Regions from separate parts of the Homo sapiens genome. Here region 1 is linked to region 2. Evidence: promoter capture Hi-C in human tissues and cell types (Jung and others, 2019). All regions are on one chromosome and are shown on one strand. The core of a region is centred on a gene start or on the middle of the fragment in contact, and the rest is flanking DNA. Distances in the headings are between cores, read along the strand shown.

Region 1 (5,471 bases), core at 2,960-5,459, 75 kb before region 2:
TTAGAGGGAGATAAATGTTTGGGGAGACTGACTCATAGAGCTCTAGGCTGGAAATGACAGCTAGGCTACACATCCCCTAACCTGGGTCCCAGGCGTTTCCATTCATCCTCAGAGCCGACTGCCAAATCCTAACCGGGAGCGCCCTCTTGGGAAAGGACAGGGAAGCGCGCATAGGACTTTGCTTTACAACCCAGGACCAGGCCCACTTCAGTAAAAAGCCAGCACTAAGCAAGAACTCTCAGCCCCTGATGCCAGGCTGGCATACAGGGGAAGCCTCTCAACCCGCCCAACACCCAAGGGGACCTGCGGCCCTGGCAGAACAGCCTCGTGTTCTGGCCCGCAACACTGCCGGCCAGCTGCAGCAGTCAGATAAACCTTAGCTGCAGGCAGGCTGTAGCTACCTGTCGGCCTTAGGCACATCCTGGTGCTGGGCTGGTCTCATGGCATGAATTCTGGGGGTGTGACTCAATATTGTCTCAGCCTCAGTGGCCATAGGGGTACCCGTGTACCCTCCCCCAACCCAGCACAGCTGTGTGAAGAGAGACACTGTTTGCTTGGGGGAAGAAGAGGTAAGTGGAGTACTTCGCCTTGGAACCCAGTGTGTCCGGAATTGGTGGGTGCTTGGTCTCACTGACTTCAAGAATGAAGCCGTGGACCCTCGCAGTGAGTGTTACAGTTCTTAAAGGGGGCATGTCCGCAGTTTATTCCTTCTGATGTTCGGATGTGTTCGGAGTTTCTTCCTTCTGGTGGGTTTGTGGTCTCGCTAGCTCAGGAGTGAAGCTGCAGACCTTCGCGGTGAGTGTTACAGCTCCTAATACGGCGCATCTGGAGATGTCCGTTCCTCCCGGTGGGTTCGTGGTGTCGCTGGCTTCAGGAGCGAAGCTGCGGACCTTCACGGTGAGTGTTACAGCTCTTAAGGCAGCGCGTCTGGAGTTGTTAGTCCCTCCTGGTTGGTTTGTGGTCTTGCTGGCTTCAGGAGTGAAGCTACAGACCTTCGCGGTGAGTGTTACAGTTCATAAAGGCAGTGTGGACCCAAAGAGTGAGCAGTAGCAAGACTTACTGCAAAGAATGAAACAACAAAGCTTCCACAGCATGGAAGGAAACCTGACCAGGTTGCCACTGCTGGCTCGGGCAGCCTGCTTTTATTCTCTTATCTGGCCCCACCCACATCCTGCTGATTGGTCCATTTTATAGACAGCCAATTGGTCTGTTTTACAGAGAGCTGATTGGTCCGTTTTGACAGGGTGCTGATGGGTGTGTTTACAATCCCTGAGCTAGACACAAAACGTCTCCACGTCCCCACTAGATTAGCTAGATACAGAGTGTGGACACAAAGGTTCTCCAAGTCCCCACCAGAGTAGCTAGATTCAGAGGGTCGACTGGTGCATTCACAAACCCTGAGCTAGACACAGGGTGCTGATTGGTGTGTTTACAAACCTTGAGCTAGATACAGAGTGCCGATTGGTATATTTACAATCCCTTAGCTAGACATAAAGATTCTCCAAGTCCCCACCAGACTCAGGAGCCCAGCTGGCTTCACCCAGTGGATCCCACACCTGGGCCGCAGGTGGAGCTGCCTGCCAGTCCCGCGCCGTGCGCCCGCACTCCTCAGCCCTTGGGTGGTCGGTGGGACTCGGCGGCGTGGAGCCGGGAGCGGCGCTGGTCGGGGAGGCTTGGTCCGCACAGGAGCCCATGGCTGCGGGGTGGGGAGGCTCAGGCATGGCGGGCTACAGGTCCCGAGCCCTGCCCTGCCAGGAGGCAGCTAAGGCCCGGCGAGAAATCGAGCACAGCAGCTGCTGGCCCAAGTGCTAAGCCCCTTACTGCCTGGGGCTTGCAGGCCGGCCGGCTGGCCGCTCCGAGTGCGGGCCCGCCGAGCCCACGCCCACTCGGAACTCGCGCTGGCCCACAAGCACCGCGTGCAGCCCCAGTTCCCGCCCCTGCCTCTCCCTCCACACCTCCCCGCAAGCTAAGGGAGCCCACTCCAGCCTCGGCCAGCCCAGGAAGGGGCTCCCACAGTGCAGCGGTGGGCTGAAGGGCTCCTCAAGCGTGGCCAGAGTGGGCGCCAAGGCCGAGGAGGCACCGAGAGCGAGCGAGGGCTGTGATGGCTGCCAGCACGCTGTCACCTGTCACCAGGACTAGGCTCACTACAGTAAAACCCAGTACTGGGCAGAGCCTCATCACCCTGATACTAGACCAGTACCCACAGGCAGATCTCACCCCACCCTAGTGCCAGATGAGAACCCACAGCCCCAGTAACAGGGACTGGCGATCTGGCCCACATCACTACCTGACAACTACAGTGGCCCTGGGCCCTGAATAACTTCAGCAGCAGCAAGCACGCCATCACAGCTGTGGGTCTTGGGCGTGCCCCAGTGCTGTGCCAGTCTCGGCAGCTATGGCCTTCAGGCATAACCCAGGGCTGTGTCAGCCTCAGTGGCCAAAGAATTCCAACCACAGTGATGCTGGGCTTAGAGCACCCCCCAGCACTACAACAGCTGAAGCAGTCATGGGCTTAGGGTCCTGACCAATCAGCCTCTCCCTAATCTCCTATGGGTTTCCTGATGAAAGACGAGCCCAAACAAAGCCAGGCAATGAAGACTGGCTTAGGTACCTATGTCAATGCACAGACATTGACACACAGCCATAAGGATCAAGGTCAATCAGAGAAACATGACATCACCAAATGAACAAATTAAGGTGCCAGTGACTAACCCTAAAGATATAGAGATGAGGCCTGGCATGGTGGCTCAGGCCTGTAATCCCAGCAGTTTGGGAGGCTGAGGTGGGAGGATCACTTGAGCCCAGGAGTTCAAGACTAGCCCGGGCAACATACTGAGACCCCATCTCTAAAAAAAAATTTAGATGGTCATAGTGGTGCACGCCTGTGGCCCCAAATACTGAGAAGGGTGAAGGAGGAGGATCACTTGAGGCCAGGAGTTTGAGGCTGCACTGAACTATGATTGTGCCACTACACTCCAGCCTGGGCAACAAATGAGACCTTGTATCTAAATAAATAAATAAGATGAAATAAAATAATAATAATGGGTAACATCGAAGCACTATTTCTTATAAAAGGTGAAAGCCTTTTATATGTACTGTCTTATTTATCCTTACACAGCCATGTGAATTAATTACTGTTATATTTCCATTTGACAGATGAGAAAACTGAGATACAAAGAAGTAAGTGCCTTTCCCACTGGCAAGTGATGGGCCAGATGTAGACAAGCTGGACGGGGTTTAAGTCCAGCTAACATGCTGCTCAGAGTGAGGAATAAACTCAACCAAATCATTGGTGGGAATGTAAATTAGTAGAGCCATTATGGAAAACAGTATGGAGATTCCTTAAAAACCTAAAAATAGATATACCACATGATCTAGTAATGCCACTGCTGAATATATATCCAAAGGAAAGGGAATCAGTATGTTGAAGAGATATTTGCACTCTCATGTTTACTGCAGCACTGCTCATAATACCCGAGATACGGAATCAACCTAAGTGTCTATCAAAAGAGGAATGGATAAAGAACATGTGGACTATATACACAAAATGGGATGTTATTCAGCCATTACAAGAGAATGAAATCCTGTAATTCCCATCAACATGGATGAGCCTGGAGTACATTACGTTAAGTGGAATAACCTAGGCACAGAAAGATAAATACCACATGTTCACACTCATATGTGAAAGCTCAAAAAGCTTATCTCCTAGAAATAGAGAATAGAAAGCCAGGCATGGCAGTTCACACCTGCAATCCCAGCACTTTGGTTGGCTGAGGCAAGAGGATAGCTTGAAGCCAGGAGTTCAAGACCAGTCTAGGCAACATAGCATGTTGCCTAAATAAAATAAAAAATATTTTATTTTCTAAAAATAAAAATAAAATTAGCCTAGCATGGTGGCATGTACTTGTGGTCCCAGCTACTTGGGAGACTGAGGCAGGAGAATCAGTTGAGCCCAGGAATTTGAGGCCACAGTGAGTTATGATCGTGCCACGGCACTCCAGCCTGGGCAACAGGGCAAGACCCTGTCTCCTTTTTTTTTTTTGAGATGGAATTTCACTCTTTTTACCCAGGCTGGAGTGCAGTGGTACAATCTCAGCTCACTGCAACCTCTGCCTCCCGAGTTCAAGCACTTCCCCTGCCTTAGTGTCCCAAATAGTTGGAACTACAGGCATGTGCCACCACGCATGGCTAATTTTTGTATTTTTAGTAGAGACGGGGTTTCACCATGTTGGCCAGGCTGGTCTTGAACTCCTGACCTCAGGTGATCCACCCATCTCGGCCTCCCAAAGTGCTGGGATTACAGGCATGAGCCACCGCGCCCAGCCTGGAATATATTCTTAAATTCATGTTGGATGGCTCAGATAACAACAACCTCTTTTTCTTAGTAAATATTGACTTTCAATAGTTATAAACAGTTGTTCTTCTTACAAGGCCCAGCCTAGGAGGACTCAACTGAAATGATGACAGCAGACAATTCCATCAGCAAGAAAGAGGATTTTGAGCTCATCATTGAGGGAAAGCTGATGAAAGAGAGCAGAGAGGTTCCAGGCTGCATTTTCCAAGATGTTGTCCTCTTCTCCGCCAAGACCTCCCAGATACTTCAGTAGGATATAGCAGTAAAACCTCATGGAGCAGATCATTTGAGCAGGCTCGGTCCCAAAGGGAAACAAAATACAGCAGCCTTTCAGGGTAGATCACACTGGGGAGACAGGGAGGCGGGGCAGCAAGGAAAGGAAAGTGAAGCTTAAAAGGTCTAAGGAGGATGGGGAGGGCAAGGCGAGCAGAGAGACCGCAGCTGAAGTTAGCAGGGGCAATAAGCATCCACCAGAGAAAACAGCCTGGGCGGATTCCAAGGAAGGGGATTTTCAAACTCAACTGCTGACTCAAAAAAAGACCCCCAGGCCAGGCGCGGGGTCTTTGTTTGAGACTCTGTCTCAAACAAAACAAAACAAAAATCCCAAATACTAAACTAACTTAGCTCCCACCCTACCTGAATTTTTTTTTTTTTTTTTGGTTCACGTTCTCTCATGATCTTCCCGAAATGTTATCCTTAAGCTTCGGGGAGAGGTGAGCAACGGAAGGAACTGGCCCAGGCCCACCACTAAAGAAGCCCCAGGACCAATCGGGGTCCTCAGAGAAGCCCCAGAAGAGCCAGGAACAAGCTGCAGAAAACCTGGGGAGGGTGGGGCCTCCACCCAATACTCCACTCACAACTGGACTCTCTGCCAGGAAAGCCAACTCCAACATTTAGATGCCCTAAAAGGAACAAAATTAACCTGCCAGGAACATGATTCAAGCAGCCTCGGTGTCTTCCGACCCACCCCATCATGGCAACCACAATTGTAGACCGCAGTCTCGATGACGTGTTCACATTATTTTGCATTTCTTTTTTCTTTTTTTATTTTTATTTTTATTTTTGAGACGGAGTCTCCCTCTGTCGCCCAGGCTGGAGTGCAGTGGCCGGATCTTGG
Region 2 (5,657 bases), core at 2,141-4,640:
GATCTAGCAATCCATTATCTCCCCTGTTTAATGCAGCACTATTCACAACAGCCAAGATATGGAATCAACCTAAGTGTCCAACAACAGATGAATGGATAATGTGTGTGTGTGTGTGTGTGTGTGTGTGTGTGTGTATATGTGTACATATATGTATATTATGTGTATATATGTGTTTATATATGTGTATATATATACACACACGCATATATATATATATATATATATATAATGGAATACTATATAGCCATAAAAAAGAATGAAATCTTGTCATTCATGACAACACAGGTGGACCTGGGGGACATCATGTTAAGTGAAATAAGCCAGGCACAGAAAGATAAATACTACATGATTTCACTCATGTGAATCTTTAAAAAAAAAAAAAAGTTGATATCATAGAAGCAGACGGTAGAACGGTGGTTACCAGAGACTGGGAAAGGAAGGAAGAAAAGGAAGACGGGAAGAGGTTCGTCAATGGGTACAAAGTTACGGTGGGATAGGAGGAATAAGTTGTGGTGTTCTATTGCACGGTAGGGTGGTTATGGTTAACAGTAAGGTATTGTATATATAAAATAGCCGGAAGAGAGGCTTTTGAATGTTCCTGTCACAAACAAATGATAAATGCATGAGGTGATGGATATGCTAACTACCCTGATTTGATCATTATACAACATATACACAGCATATATTGAAATGTCTAATTTACCCCATAAATATGTACAAGTGTCAATTTTAAAAACTTTGTTATTTTTTGGCCAGGGGCGATGGCTCACATCTGTAATCCCAGCACTTTGGGATGCCGAGGCAGGTGGATCACGAGGTCAGGAGATTGAGACCATCCTGGCTAACACGGTAAAACCCTGTCTCTACTTAAAACACAAAAAAATTAGCCGGGCGTGGTGGCAGGCGCCTGTAGTCCCAGCTACTCGGGAGGCTGAGGCAGGAGAATGGTGTGAACCCGGGAGGTGGAGCTTGCAGTGAGCAGAGACTGTGCCACTGCACTCCAACCTGGGCGACAGGGCGAGACTCCGTCTCAAAAAACAAAACAAAACAAAACAAAACAAAATTTTTTTTTAAGAATTAGGAATTCCTAGGACGTAGCAAGCTGCTCTTTCAGCTCTGTCCACTCTGTCATCCCACGTCGCTCCTATTCCCTGTTTCCTCCCTTCTTTATATCTATTCTACTCCTAAATTCCTCCCCCTTATTCTTTATTGCTATGTATGGAAGTCTGGGGAAAAAAAAGTGAAGGGAAAGAATCCGATCTGGAGGGCAATAGTAGGGAAGGGGAAAAGAGTAGGTATTTAGGAGAGGAGATGAAAATCCTCTCGTTTCTGAACCGATCTGATGAGTCAGCAAAGAAGACTTACCACAGCTCCAGGACTTTGGGGGGTAGCTTTTCAGGGACCTGGTAATACTGAAGGACCCAGGAGAGGACTTCTTGCCACCGATCCATTTCTGCCAGGGCCTGGATCCCCACAACACACAGGGAGCACTTCACCTCCAATGAGCTGTCAGCAGAAAAACCAATTTCAGTTAGAAGTGGTTCCCCTCCATTTCCATTCCCACCTCCACCTTGGGACTGTTCCTCTCCAGCTCCCAACTCAGCAGCCATCATCTCTCTCATCCCTGTTAGTATTTAGATGGGCTTCACAATTGGTCTCATGGGCTGCCCTTTCCCCCAGGAACTAAAAGTTCCTGTAACCCTCTTTCAAGAGGCAAGTCAGCTGTTGCTCAACGTTCATCTTTGTATCCAGGTGAAATCAGATTTAAATGAAGAGGAAGGGTAATCCTGAGGGGGAAATAACACACAGCACCGGTGTGTGGCTGAAAAGAGAGCTGGAACTAAGAGTTTGCTCTGTGAACAAATGGGCTTGGAGCAAGGTTTCTGGCTGAGTGGAGGTATAGACTCCATAGCTGGCTAAAAGGCACCACCTAGTAAGGTTCCTCCAGACACCCAGAAGCAAAGCCTTCTGCATTCACTGAAATGAGCTCCCACCCAGTCCCCTAAAACACAGCCAGGGCTCTCCAGATCATCCTTCTTTGTGGTCAACTTTAGCTATTCTACCTACCACCTCCCTAGCGTGGCCTAACCCAAGTTTACAATGCAAAGAAATGACTCCCTCACCTGCCAGACGAGGCTGGTGGCATTAGAAAGAGCAATGCAAGCCCAAGGTTTTTTTCTCCGGATTCTTTTCTTTTTCTTCTTTTTGGTAGAGAAGAGGGCTCATTATGTTACCCAGGCTGGTCTCGAACTCCTGGGCTCAAGCAATCCTCCTGCCTCGGCCTCCCAAAGTGCTGGGATTACAGGCGTAAGCCCCAGCTCCCGGCCCTGAATTAATTCTTTAATCCAGTCCTCTAATTGGACCAGAACGCTGCTCCTGCCATGACCCCCATTCCCCATCATCAGCCAAGGTCAGGAATAAACAACCTTGGGCGGGGCGGGGAGGGCGGAGGTACCTGGGAGAGGACTTTTACCACCTGCTTACTGACAGAACTTAGCACTTAATACACATTCAGCCTTCCCATCATGTCATTGTACCTTGGAACAAGGAGCAAATAATTGGCTGTGGGATCCCCACTAAGTTTTTGTTACACGACTTCCCTTCTCTGTAGAATGGGCACACGATGAGCGACCACCCTCTCGGAGACAAACCACTGATGAAAGCGAGGTGTAAAGCTCCTTGTGGGCAATCTGGGAAGGACAGAACTCCTGAGACCTTGAGCCCCACCACAAGAGCGCCCGGAAATCGGTTCATTTCCGAGCCCAGCACGTACGTGCCCGCGGGTTCCTCTGCCACGGCGTGGTTGGCCAGACTCTGCCAGGCCCGCTCGCAGGTCTCCAGCGCCGCCCGGAAGTCCAGGTGCACCACCAGGAGGTCGGCCGCCTCCTCCAGAAGGTCCACGGCCGGCGCCCGGGCCGGGACCGCGCGCACCGGCTCGCTGCTGCGCAGGGGTCCCCCGAGCCCCCTGAGGGGGGCTGCAGAGGTCGAAGAATCGCTCTTCATAACGAGTCCGGGTCCAAGGCCCAGGTCCTCAGACGTCGGAGTGACCGCCTCCCCAGAGGCTCCGGGATATCCCGAGTTGGCCTGGGCGAAGAGGGAGAGTCCTCATCTCTTTGCCCACACCCCTTCCCGAGGTCGATTCCCCGAGAAGGAAAAGGAAGGGGCCTATCTGAGGCAAAAGCTGGGCTCGCCTGGAGGCTGGGGAAGCAGTTTACACGTCAGATTTGCAGGATTCTTGCATCCCTGGAATACCTGGCCCTAGCTTCTCCGGCCCCGCGACACGTGCAGGAACTGCCTCAGCTCCGGGCTCCTGGTTACGATCAAAGACTCACCTCGCCTCCCGGCAGCGGGCGCGGACATCTTTGCGCTCGCCCAGCCCCGCAGCCGCGCGGCGTCCCGGCGGCGCGGAGTACTCTAGGAGTTGTAGTTCCTCAGCTCTCGGCCCATCGCCTTCTGTAATGGAAGTAGGAGGCAGAGCGCGGACTACAACCCCCAGCACGCCGCGCCCCGGAAGCCGCCCCTGTGCCGTGAGAAAACAAACTGGTGCTACAGCTTCGGGGTGCGGAAGTCAAAACGAAGCAAAACCGAAGCTGTCTTGTGAAATGGAGGGGTCCTCACTAACCAGTTCCAGCGGAGGCTAACGGAAGAAGTGCCAGCAATGGATGTGCAGCTACATGCACGCTTTTAATTCAGAGCTTCTGCGACGGTGGCGATCAGGGGATCTGTAATGTAATGTAATGTCAAGGCTGACGCAGAGCTGATCAAACATTTTGGCAACCTTAGTCTTGAATTGATTCACACTTTCTCCGCGTTGCCTCCGGAGTTTGCTGTAGGGTAATGAATATTGCCTGGTGAGGATGAGGGACTTAGGGTGGAAACCTTCACAAGGACCACTGAGAATATGTTGGTCCCAAGGGCAATGTTCCAAAATGAATAGTGACCCCACCGAGGCGGGGTTGGGGGCGCTGAGCATAAGGGCCTCATTTTTCTCACTGCTCTCTGCCCCATCCTGAATTTGCTGTTAAAAAACAACGTTAAATGCAGATACCAATTCCACTTCCCCACTGTTGTCACTTCCGATCTGTCTTTATATTTCTCCTTATCATTTATCACCATCTACATACCAATGTCTATATTTTACTTATTTTTATTGTCTATTTCCTTCCACTATGATATAAACTCACAAAGGCAGACGTTTTTGTCTCTTTTGTTCACTGTGGGAACCTCAATGCCTTGAACAGTGCCTGTCATCTATAGGTAGTCAAAAAGTATTTGTGGAATAAATGAAGTCCTGGTTTCACTTTTATCTGGTTACAGGGTCCAGACTTCTCTTTCCTCGGAGTCTGGTGGACTTGGTTCTGCCTCAGCTTCCCATGCAGACTTTTCTGCAAGAGAACGGAAATCCCAGAAGATGGATGTGTGCATGTCTGGTGACAAGGGCAGGGGATGTATGATGTGAGCAGGTGCCTGTTTAATCTAATTTCTAGGAGAGCAAAGATTCTAGGGAAGCTTTGGAGTGAATTCAAAGGGTAGAGAACTGGGGAGAAACTAAAGCCAAGAGGATCTAGTACAAATGTGGGAAGCTTGGCAAAGCCCGGGTGAAACAGAATATAATAATAAGTGTGATTTGTGGATCTGTTTAAAATTATTATTATAGTTACAATTTACCAAATACTCTGTTCCCAGTACTTTACTATAAAGTGCATTATGTACGGTATGGTTTTGTTTTTCACAATGTCCTTATTTTACATTGTGTAACTTGCTCATGGAATGACTGTGTATCCCCTGAATAGCAAACATACTTAGTTCTGTCCCTGCAGAGCAGAGTAGAGCTCAATACACATCTTTGAACCAAAAGAGCCTCGGTTTGACTGAGATTTTGTCGCTTACTAGTTGTGTGACCTCGGCAATTTATTTAAATAAGCTCTGATTTCCTCACCTGTAAAATTGGGATAACAGTTTGTCCTTAGCTCCCAATGGCTGAGGGAAGAATTAAGTAATATTGCGCATAAAGCGCCATGCGCATTAAGCACTGAAAATGTGAGCCAGGCCTGGGAAGACGAACATGCTCAGAAGCGGCCAGCTCTAAGCGGCTGCTGCCTGGAAAAGTCCCTTTCCTAACAAATTTCTTGCTATTCCAAATTTGTCCAGGAGATGGAGGCACAGTCTTAACAGAAGCAGCCTTGCTAAAAGTAAATTTGCCTATTTAGTAGTGAGACAGCCAGAATGAGGTCAAGATATTTAAGGCAGGAGAGAGGAGAGCTAGAAACCATATAAAAATATGATTGTATTCCATTTCTGATTCACCCAATTTTCAACTATTCCCGGGCTTCATATCAGTCCGTATGTAACCACTGTTTAGCACTATTATGCCCACAAATGGATTCCTCAACACACATCCAGTGGGACACATCATCTCCTCTATGTCTACAAGTACTTAGACTTTCTCAAGCGAAGACACAGAAATCCTAAACAGAAGCGAATTCATTCCCTCTGGGGGAACATAAATGCGTATTGTCTTTACTTAGCCAAACTTCTGTCTCTAAGTTGGAGCTCATGGGACAGCCTTTGAAATCATCTCTTCTGTCATTTCCTCATCTTTGAGACAAAAAACACAGTGGAAATAAGGACAGTCCTTTCAGATGTATAAGGCCAGG

Evidence for each region. Contacts are between HindIII fragments. The study calls those that stand out against the background at their distance.
Region 1: a fragment that was not itself captured here is called in contact with the fragment with the promoter of PEX26 in region 2 in 5 of the 25 tissues and cell types used here (lymphoblastoid cells, pancreas, small bowel and 2 more).

The regions. Positions count from the first base shown.
Region 1 is chr22:18,152,001-18,157,471 of GRCh38, reverse strand. All of the region lies in intron 1 of USP18 (ubiquitin specific peptidase 18), which reads right to left. Among named protein-coding and RNA genes, the nearest start is that of USP18, 4.6 kb to the right of the region's middle. RefSeq lists enhancers at 1,649-2,150, 4,633-4,882. The HindIII fragment of the contact is 3,638 bases long and covers 2,391-5,471 here.
Region 2 is chr22:18,075,723-18,081,379 of GRCh38, reverse strand. It overlaps PEX26 (peroxisomal biogenesis factor 26), which reads right to left and starts at 3,390. Exons shown (of 5, transcript NM_001127649.3): 1 at 2,774-3,390; 2 at 1,366-1,506. The coding sequence starts at 3,003. It overlaps LOC105372853 (a long non-coding RNA gene), which reads right to left. Exons shown (of 6, transcript XR_001755424.2): 6 at 3,484-3,722. RefSeq lists silencers at 1-11, 2,977-3,026 and enhancers at 2,567-2,616, 3,097-3,326, 3,657-3,716. The HindIII fragment of the contact is 17,547 bases long and covers 1-5,657 here.